Linked DNA regions of Homo sapiens: region 2 is linked to region 1. Evidence: promoter capture Hi-C in human tissues and cell types (Jung and others, 2019). All regions are on one chromosome and are shown on one strand. The core of a region is centred on a gene start or on the middle of the fragment in contact, and the rest is flanking DNA. Distances in the headings are between cores, read along the strand shown. Region 1 holds the start of ARFGAP3 (ARF GTPase activating protein 3). Region 2 has its middle 29 kb from the start of A4GALT.

Region 1 (3,801 bases), core at 740-3,239:
TTCTGAGATAAAGGTGACAAAAAAATATAGTTTACACATTGCTAACCGCAGATCCTAATCTTGACTAAGTTACACAGGACCCACTCTTTATAAACACATCAATCTAAATTTAAAAATCAAGGCTGGGCGCGGTGGCTCACGCCTGTAATCCCAGCACTTCAGGAGGCCGAGGCGGGTGGATCACTTGAGGCCAGGAGTTTGAGACCAGAGTGACTGACATGGTGAAACCTCGTCTCTACTAAAAATATAAAAATTACTTGAGTGTAGTGGTGGATGCCTGTAATCCTGGCGACTCAGGAGGCTGAGGCAGAATTGCTCAAACCCAGGAGGCAGAGGTTGCAGTGAGCTGAGATCGCACCACTGCACTCCAGCCTGGGCGACAGAGCAAGGCTCTGTCTCAAAAAAATTAAAATTAAAACGTTAAAAAAAAAAAAAAGAACATTAAGGCCAGCATGGTGGCTCATGCCTGTAATCCTAGCACTCTGGGAGGCCAAGGCAGGAGGAGGCAGGAGGACTGCTTGAGCCCAGGAATTTGACACCAGCACGGGCAACATAGCAAGACCCTGTCTCTACAAAAATTAATTAATTAATTAATTAATAATAACAATTAGCTGGGCGTGGTGGTACAGCCCTGTGGTGTCAGCCTCATCAGGAGGCTGGGAAGGAAGGATGGCTTGGGCTGGGTAGGTCAAGGCTGCAGTGAGCTAGGATCAAGGCACTACACTTCAGCCTGGGTGACGGGGTGAGACCCTGTCTCTAAAAAAATAAATAAATAAAAATGTGAAAATCAAGAGAACAGTAAAGAAACGGGCACTGGAGAATTCCTGGAGCCTTTCTCTTAACTTTCCCACATCCATCAGACATCACCTCCAATAAACTGTTTCCTTCCTCACCTAGGCTGGAAAAAATATGGGCTCCCCTGTACCATCAAGACTTAAAACCAACAGAAACACCTATTTTGTAACACTCGGGAACTTTCTATGCCAGCATATCGAGGTTCAATAACAGCTGTTCCCTTCGGGAAGTGACAGTGGGAACCAGACAACACTCGTGTCACAGGAGGGGCGGGGAGAGCCCACGCTGACGCGACAGCCCTTTGCACTCTCCAAGTCCCTCTCCGACCCGACGTGTCACCTTAGCCCCCTGCGTCACCCCAACGCCTCCAGCCAGCTGCGCAAAGCTGTAAAAGTTCCAGGGAGAGAACAGCCTCTGGAGACAAAAAAAAAAAGGAAACCTCCATCTCCAAAGAGAACCGAGGAGAGGGAGGAGGCTGTGGTGAGCCTCCCTGGCCAAAGCGACAAAAGCTGGAAGCCAAAGCGTAGACTACTCGGCAACTTTATCAGAAGAGAAACTGAGGCAGGCACCGCAAGGCCCGAGGAGCCAAGCCGGCTCCAACAGGCGGGGTCGAGCTCCAGGGTGGCGCTGGGGGAGCCGCGCTTTCCCCGCATCCGGCGCCAGCAGCCGGGGTTTCCGAGCCGGGAGCTCCCTCCTCGCAGCGCCCCCGAGGATGCCCCCGCCCCCGCCTCCGCTCAGAGCCGCCGGTGCTCGCCCCCCGCCCCAAGAGCTCGCCGGGGGGTGTGCCCGCGCCGCCGCCCCCGGGAACGCTCCCCGGCTCGCGTGAGGACCCCCGCGCTGCGGCCTCCCGCCCGGGCCTCTCAGCTGCCCGGCCCCGCCCGCCCCGGCCCGGCCAGGCTGCCGCGGCCCCACAGTGCGACGTGTCACAGGCCGCGCCGGCCCCGCCTCCCAAGCCACGGGCACTGGCGCCCGCGGGGCCTCCCGCCGGTTCCCGCAGGGATGCCAGGCAGGCCCGCACTCGCCCGCGGCCGCTACCTTGTTAGTGGGCACCGAGCGGAGGCGCTTGAAGATGGTCAAGATGTCCTGCTTGCTGGGGTCCCCCATCGTCAGCTGTGAGCCGCGGCGCAGCTGGCCCAGCCAACCGGTAAGAGTCGACGAAAAGCGGCTACCGCCTCAGCAGGAGCGACGAGGCCGCGGGGGCGGGGCTGCGCGTAACGGTCAGGCTCCGCCCCAATCCCCGCCCACGACCGGGCCCGTCCACCGCCGGGGCGCAGGCGCCGCTCGCTTTCCCTCCCCGCCCTCGCTTCAGCCGCGCCGCTGGCCCGACCCCAGGCGCTGCACGCGCGTGCGCAGGAGGCTCGCGCGCCATTTGCGGCGCGGCTCCACGCCCTTAGCGCTGGGCGAAGCCGGGCCCGGGTGTGGCTGCCTGCCACGCGCGCTGCCATAGGATCCACCAACGTTTCGCCTGGTCGATCGCCATTTCGCCTAACGGGCTGCTTCCATGGAAAGGTCAGAGGCAGGGGAAGGGGCGCACGCGCCCTCCTTCGGCACGAGACGGACGGAGGGCCCGTGCCTTGACGCCGGACCTTAGCTGGTGGCCTTCCCTTTTTTTTTTTTTTTTTTTGAGACGGAGCCTCGCTCTGTCCCCCAGGCTGGAGTGTAATGGCGCGATTGCGGCTCCTTGCAACCTCCCTGGTTCAAGCGATTCTCCTGCCTCAGCCTCCCGAGTAGGTGGGATTACAGGCGTACATCACCACGCCCGGCTAATTTTTGTATTTTTAGTAGAGACCAGGGTTTCACCATGTTGCCCAGGCTGGTCTCGAACTCCTGACTTCAGGTGATCCACCCACTTCGGCCTTCCAAATTGCTGGGATTACAGACGTGAGCCGCCGCGCCCGACTCTTTTTAATTCTTGCCCTCAGCTCACGCCAGGCCCTGGGTGGAAAGCTTTCTTTGCCCGGAAACTGGCTTTCTGAAACCAAGGGCTTTTGTGTCACGTTCATGGAGAGATGGCAGTGCGGGTTGAGGCAGAAGTGCTCAGTCAGAACTGATGAGTCCAGATGAGAAGCTTGACTTTTAACCCCGGCCCTCGGGGCTGCACCCTACCCTCTGGGAAACAATTCCAGCCAGAAGAGTTTACACTCAGCAGAAGGTGCCTCTGTCACCACAATGGGTGTGGAGCCACTGGAAAGAGGTTGGGTGATAGTGAGGAAGGACAGCAGGTTTTGGCATCAAAGGCACTACCTTGGCCTCAATCCCAGTTCAGCCAGCTGCTTCCTAGCTCTGTGGCCTTGGTCAAGACACTTACCTTCTCTAAAGCATGGTTTATTTGCAGTCTCAGGGGCTCATGCCTGTGATCCCAGCACTTTGGGAGGCTGAGGCGGGAGGATCACTTGAGCTCAGGAGTTCAAGACCAGACTGGATAATATGGTGAAACCCCGTCTCTATAAAAAAATGCAAAAATTAGCCGGGCATGCTGGCATGGGCCTGTAGTCCTAGCTACTTGGGAGGCTGAGGTGGGAGGATCGCTTTAGTCCAGGAGGTCGAGGCTGCAGTGAGCCAAGATCGCACCACTGCACTCCAGCATGGGCGACAGACCAAGACCCTGTCTCAAAAAGTAAAATAAAATAAACCATGGTTTATTCATCTGTACAAAGAAATTAAAGAATCAGTGCTGAGTAGCACAGGTGAGCAGCTTCCTAGGGATATCCTGAAGAGCCTTTGGTGGAGGCTTTCTACTGTTAGAAGTCAGGAAATGTACACTCCACCTATCTGCTTGGAGACCCTCGGTGGCAGTTGGGAGCTTGCAGACAATGTAACTTATAAACCCAAAGCTGCAACTTTTCCAAGAAAGGGAAATTGATTATCTTCCAGAAAAGTACATTACTTTTGCAGGTAGCTCTGATGGTTTAAAAGTTCTTCCTGTATTGAGTCGAAGTATAACACCTGTGCTTTGTGTCCACCGGGTACTAGTTTGGCCTTATGCAGAATACCGGGCATGTTTAT
Region 2 (3,801 bases), core at 580-3,079, 110 kb before region 1:
GACTAGCTGGCGTCAGTAGTTTCATCCGGATGCAGGCCCTGAAAGAATATCTCAAATGCAAAAGTGAACGTTTCATGACATACAAGTGGCTGTCTACAGAGCAGTTAAGGGGTGTTAGCATCCTGCGACAGGGTCTGTGTGATTCTGAGGCCGCCACAGGCACTGCATGGCTGTGAGGCAGCTGGTCAGAGAGCAGGCTGCTCTCAGAGCTCATGCTGAGTAGCTTGCAAGCTTGGCTTGTTTCCGTTTTTCCCTCCTCTTCCCTGATTACTTTTTTTTTTTTTTTTTGAGATGGAATCTGGCTCTTGTCGCCCAGGCTGGAGTGCAGTGCCGCAATCTCAGCTCACTGCAACCTCTGCCTCTTGGTTCCAGCGATTCTCCTTCCTCAGCCTCCCGAGTAGCTGCAATTACAGGCGCCCATCACCACACCCAGCTAATTTTTGTGTTTTTAGTAGAGACAGGGTTTTGCCATGTTGACCAGGCTGGTCTCAAACTCCTAACCTCAAGTGATTTGCCTGCCTCAGCCTCCCAAAGTGCTGGGATGACAGGTATGAGCCATTGCACCGAGCCCCTGATTAATTTTATAAATTTTATAAGGAGTTTCCCTGGGACCCCTATCTCCAGGGTTTGGCTATCCTGGGCTCCCCTGCAGCTACATTCCCAGGGTCCTCCCATCTGAGGCTAGGAGGGGCCTCATCCCTTCCGAGGCTTAGGTGGGGAGGCTGCCAATCCCTCCCCTCCGCCTGCACCTGCCTCTAACCCACTGCCCTCCTGCTTGCCCCAGCCTAATCCTCTGAGGGAGCCCCAGTTTCTGCCACTCCAGGGTGTGTGGGTGCTGGCCAGGGAGGCTGTGATCTGGTTGCCCGCTCTGTCTGCTTTCCCAGAGACAAGCGAGCCGAAGGCCTGGCCTCTTTGTTGGGATGGGAAAGAGAGATGCCCCCACAGCAATGAGAAGCGCTTGGTTATTATCCCAGTCGGCACCAGCTACTCCAGGCAACTGCGCTTTGCAGCCTGCAGGATGCAGGCTCAGGGACTCGAAGAGGACATTCTGTGGCCTCCCCAGTGGCACCACCCTCTCCTGGCAGCTAGGGATCCACCCTCCCCAGCCATGTAGGCCTGGTGGCTGGCTCTTAACCTCCCATGCCAGGTGGGGGTGCCCCTGCACTACTGTCCGTCCTCAGGCTGGCTGCTCCCACTCCCATGGTCCCTGTGTTCGCAGCCTCACCACTGGCAGAAAAAATAAGCATCACTGGTTGGGCGCGGTGGCTCATGCCTGTAATAACAGCATTTTGGGAGGCCGAGGCAGGTGGATCACTTGAGGTTAGGAGTTCGAGACCAGCCTGGCCAACATGGTGAAACCACGTCTCTACTAAAAATACAAAATTAGCCAGGCATGGTGGCACATGCCTTTCAAAAAAAAAAAAAGCATCATTTCATCATTGCATCATTGCTGGGCACAGCTCCTTCCCAGGCAGGTCTGAGCTTGTTGCCCAGGGTAGGTTCCCAATACTCAGCAAAGCCTTTGCTACTTCTGTGCTTCCTTACAGTGTGGGCCTCACAGAGTTGTTTTTTTTTTTTTTTTTTATGGAGTCTCACTCTGTCACCCAGGCTGGAGTGCAGTGGCACAAACTCGGCTCACTGCAACCTGTGCCTCCCAGGTTCAAGTGATTCTCCTGCCTCACCCTCCCGAGTAGCTGAGATTATAGGTGCACAACACCACGCCCAGCTAATTTTCTTTTTTATTTATTTATTTATTTATTTATTTATTTTTATTGATCATTCTTGGGTGTTTCTCACAGAGGGGGATTTGGCAGGGTCAAAGGACAATAGTGGAGGGAAGGTCAGCAGATAAACAAGTGAACAAAGGTCTCTGGTTTTCCTAGGCAGAGGACCCTGCGGCCTTCCGCAGTGTTTGTGTCCCTGGGTACTTGAGATTAGGGAGTGGTGATGACTCCTAACGAGCATGCTGCCTTCAAGCATCTGTTTAACAAAGCACATCTTGCACCGCCCTTAATCCATTTAACTCTGAGTGGACACAGCACATGTTTCAGAGAGCACAGGGTCGGGGGTAAGGTCACAGATCAACAGGATCCCAAGGCAGAAGAATTTTTCTTAGTACAGAACAAAATGAAAAGTCTCCCATGTCTACCTCCCTCTACACAGACACGGCAACCATCCGATTCCTCAATCTTTTCCCCACCTTTCCCCCCGCTCCATTCCACAAAGCCGCCATTGTCATCCTGGCCCGCTCTCAATGAGCTGTTGGGCACACCTCCCAGACGGGGTGGTGGCCGGGCAGAGGGGCTCCTCACCTCCCAGCAGGGGCGGCCGGGCAGAGGCGCCCCTCACCTCCCAGACGGGGCGGCTGGCCGGGCGGGGGGCTGACCCCCCCACCTCCCTCCCGGACGGGGCGGCTGCCGGGCGGAGGGGCTCCTCACTTCTCAGACGGGGCGGCCGGGCAGAGACGCTCCTCACTTCCTAGATGTGACGGCGGCCGGGAAGAGGCGCTCCTCACTTCCTAGATGGGATGGCGGCTGGGCAGAGACGCTCCTCACTTTCCAGACTGGGCAGCCAGGCAGAGGGGCTCCTCACATCCCAGACGATGGGCGGCCAGGCAGAGACGCTCCTCACTTCCCAGACGGGGTGGCGGCCGGGCAGAGGCTGCAATCTCGGCACTTTGGGAGGCCAAGGCAGGCGGCTGGGAGGTGGAGGTTGTAGCGAGCCGAGATCACGCCACTGTACTCCAGCCTGGGCGCCACTGAGCACTGAGTGAACCAGACTCCGTCTGCAAACCCGGCACCTCGGGAGGCCGAGGCTGGCAGATCACTCGCGGTTAGGAGCTGGAGACCAGCCCGGCCAACACAGCGAAACCCCGTCTCCACCAAAAAAATACGAAAACCAGTCAGGCGTGGTGGCGCGCGCCTGCAATTGCAGGCACTCCGCAGGCTGAGGCAGGAGAATCAGGCAGGGAGGTTGCAGTGAGCCGAGATGGCAGCAGTATAGTCCAGCTTCGGCTCGGCATGAGAGGGAGACCGTGGAAAGAGAGGGAGAGGGAGACCATGGGGAGAGGGAGACCATGAGGAGAGGGAGAGGGACAGGGACAGGGACAGGGAGAGGGAGAGCTACTCCCTGTGTTTGATTCCCCTCCAAGAGCCCTAATTTTCATCTTTTAATAGAAACGGGGTTTCACCATGTTGGCCAGGCTGGTCTCGAACTCCTGAACTCAGGTGATCTGCCCGCCTAGGCCTCCCAAAGTGCTGGGATTACAGGCGCATGACACCATGCCCAGCTAATTTTTGTATTTTTAGTAGAGTCAGTTTCACCATGTTGGCCAGGCTGGTCTCGAACCCCTGACCTCAAGTGATCCACCCGCCTCGGCTTCCCAAAGTGCTGGGATTACAGGCGTGAGCCACCGTGCCCGGCTACGCCCTGCTGATTTTTGTATTTTTAACAGAGATGGGGTTTCACCATGTTGGCCGTGCTGGTCTTGAACTCCTGACCTTGTGATCCGCCTGCCTCTGCCTCCCAAAGTGCTGGTATTACAGGCATGAGCCACCGCGCCTGGCCACGCCTGGCTAATTTCTTTTGTAATTTTAGTAGAGACATGGTTTCACCATGTTGGTCAGGCTGGTCTTGAACTCCTGACCTCAAGTGATCTGCCCGCCTTGGCCTCCCAAAGTGCTGGGATTACAAGCATGAACTACTGTGCCTGGCCCCAAGCCCTTCTTCTTAACCCCAGTGGACTGGGACCCGAAGAAGGCCTCCACGCCCCACGTTTCCTGTTAGGAAACTGTGAGACTT

What was found. The method cuts DNA at HindIII sites, captures the fragments that hold promoters and counts their contacts. A contact is called where the count stands out against the background at its distance.
Region 2: a contact is called between a fragment that was not itself captured here and the fragment with the promoter of ARFGAP3 in region 1, in 4 of the 25 tissues and cell types used here (liver, lymphoblastoid cells, pancreas and 1 more).

The regions. Positions count from the first base shown.
Region 1 is chr22:42,855,284-42,859,084 of GRCh38, forward strand. It overlaps ARFGAP3 (ARF GTPase activating protein 3), which reads right to left and starts at 1,990. Exons shown (of 16, transcript NM_014570.5): 1 at 1,831-1,990. The coding sequence starts at 1,899. RefSeq lists an enhancer at 1,149-1,993 and a silencer at 1,516-2,265. The HindIII fragment of the contact is 10,713 bases long and covers 1-3,801 here.
Region 2 is chr22:42,748,200-42,752,000 of GRCh38, forward strand. No RefSeq gene overlaps it. Among named protein-coding and RNA genes, the nearest start is that of A4GALT, 29 kb to the left of the region's middle. RefSeq lists an enhancer at 374-935. The HindIII fragment of the contact is 7,860 bases long and covers 1-3,801 here.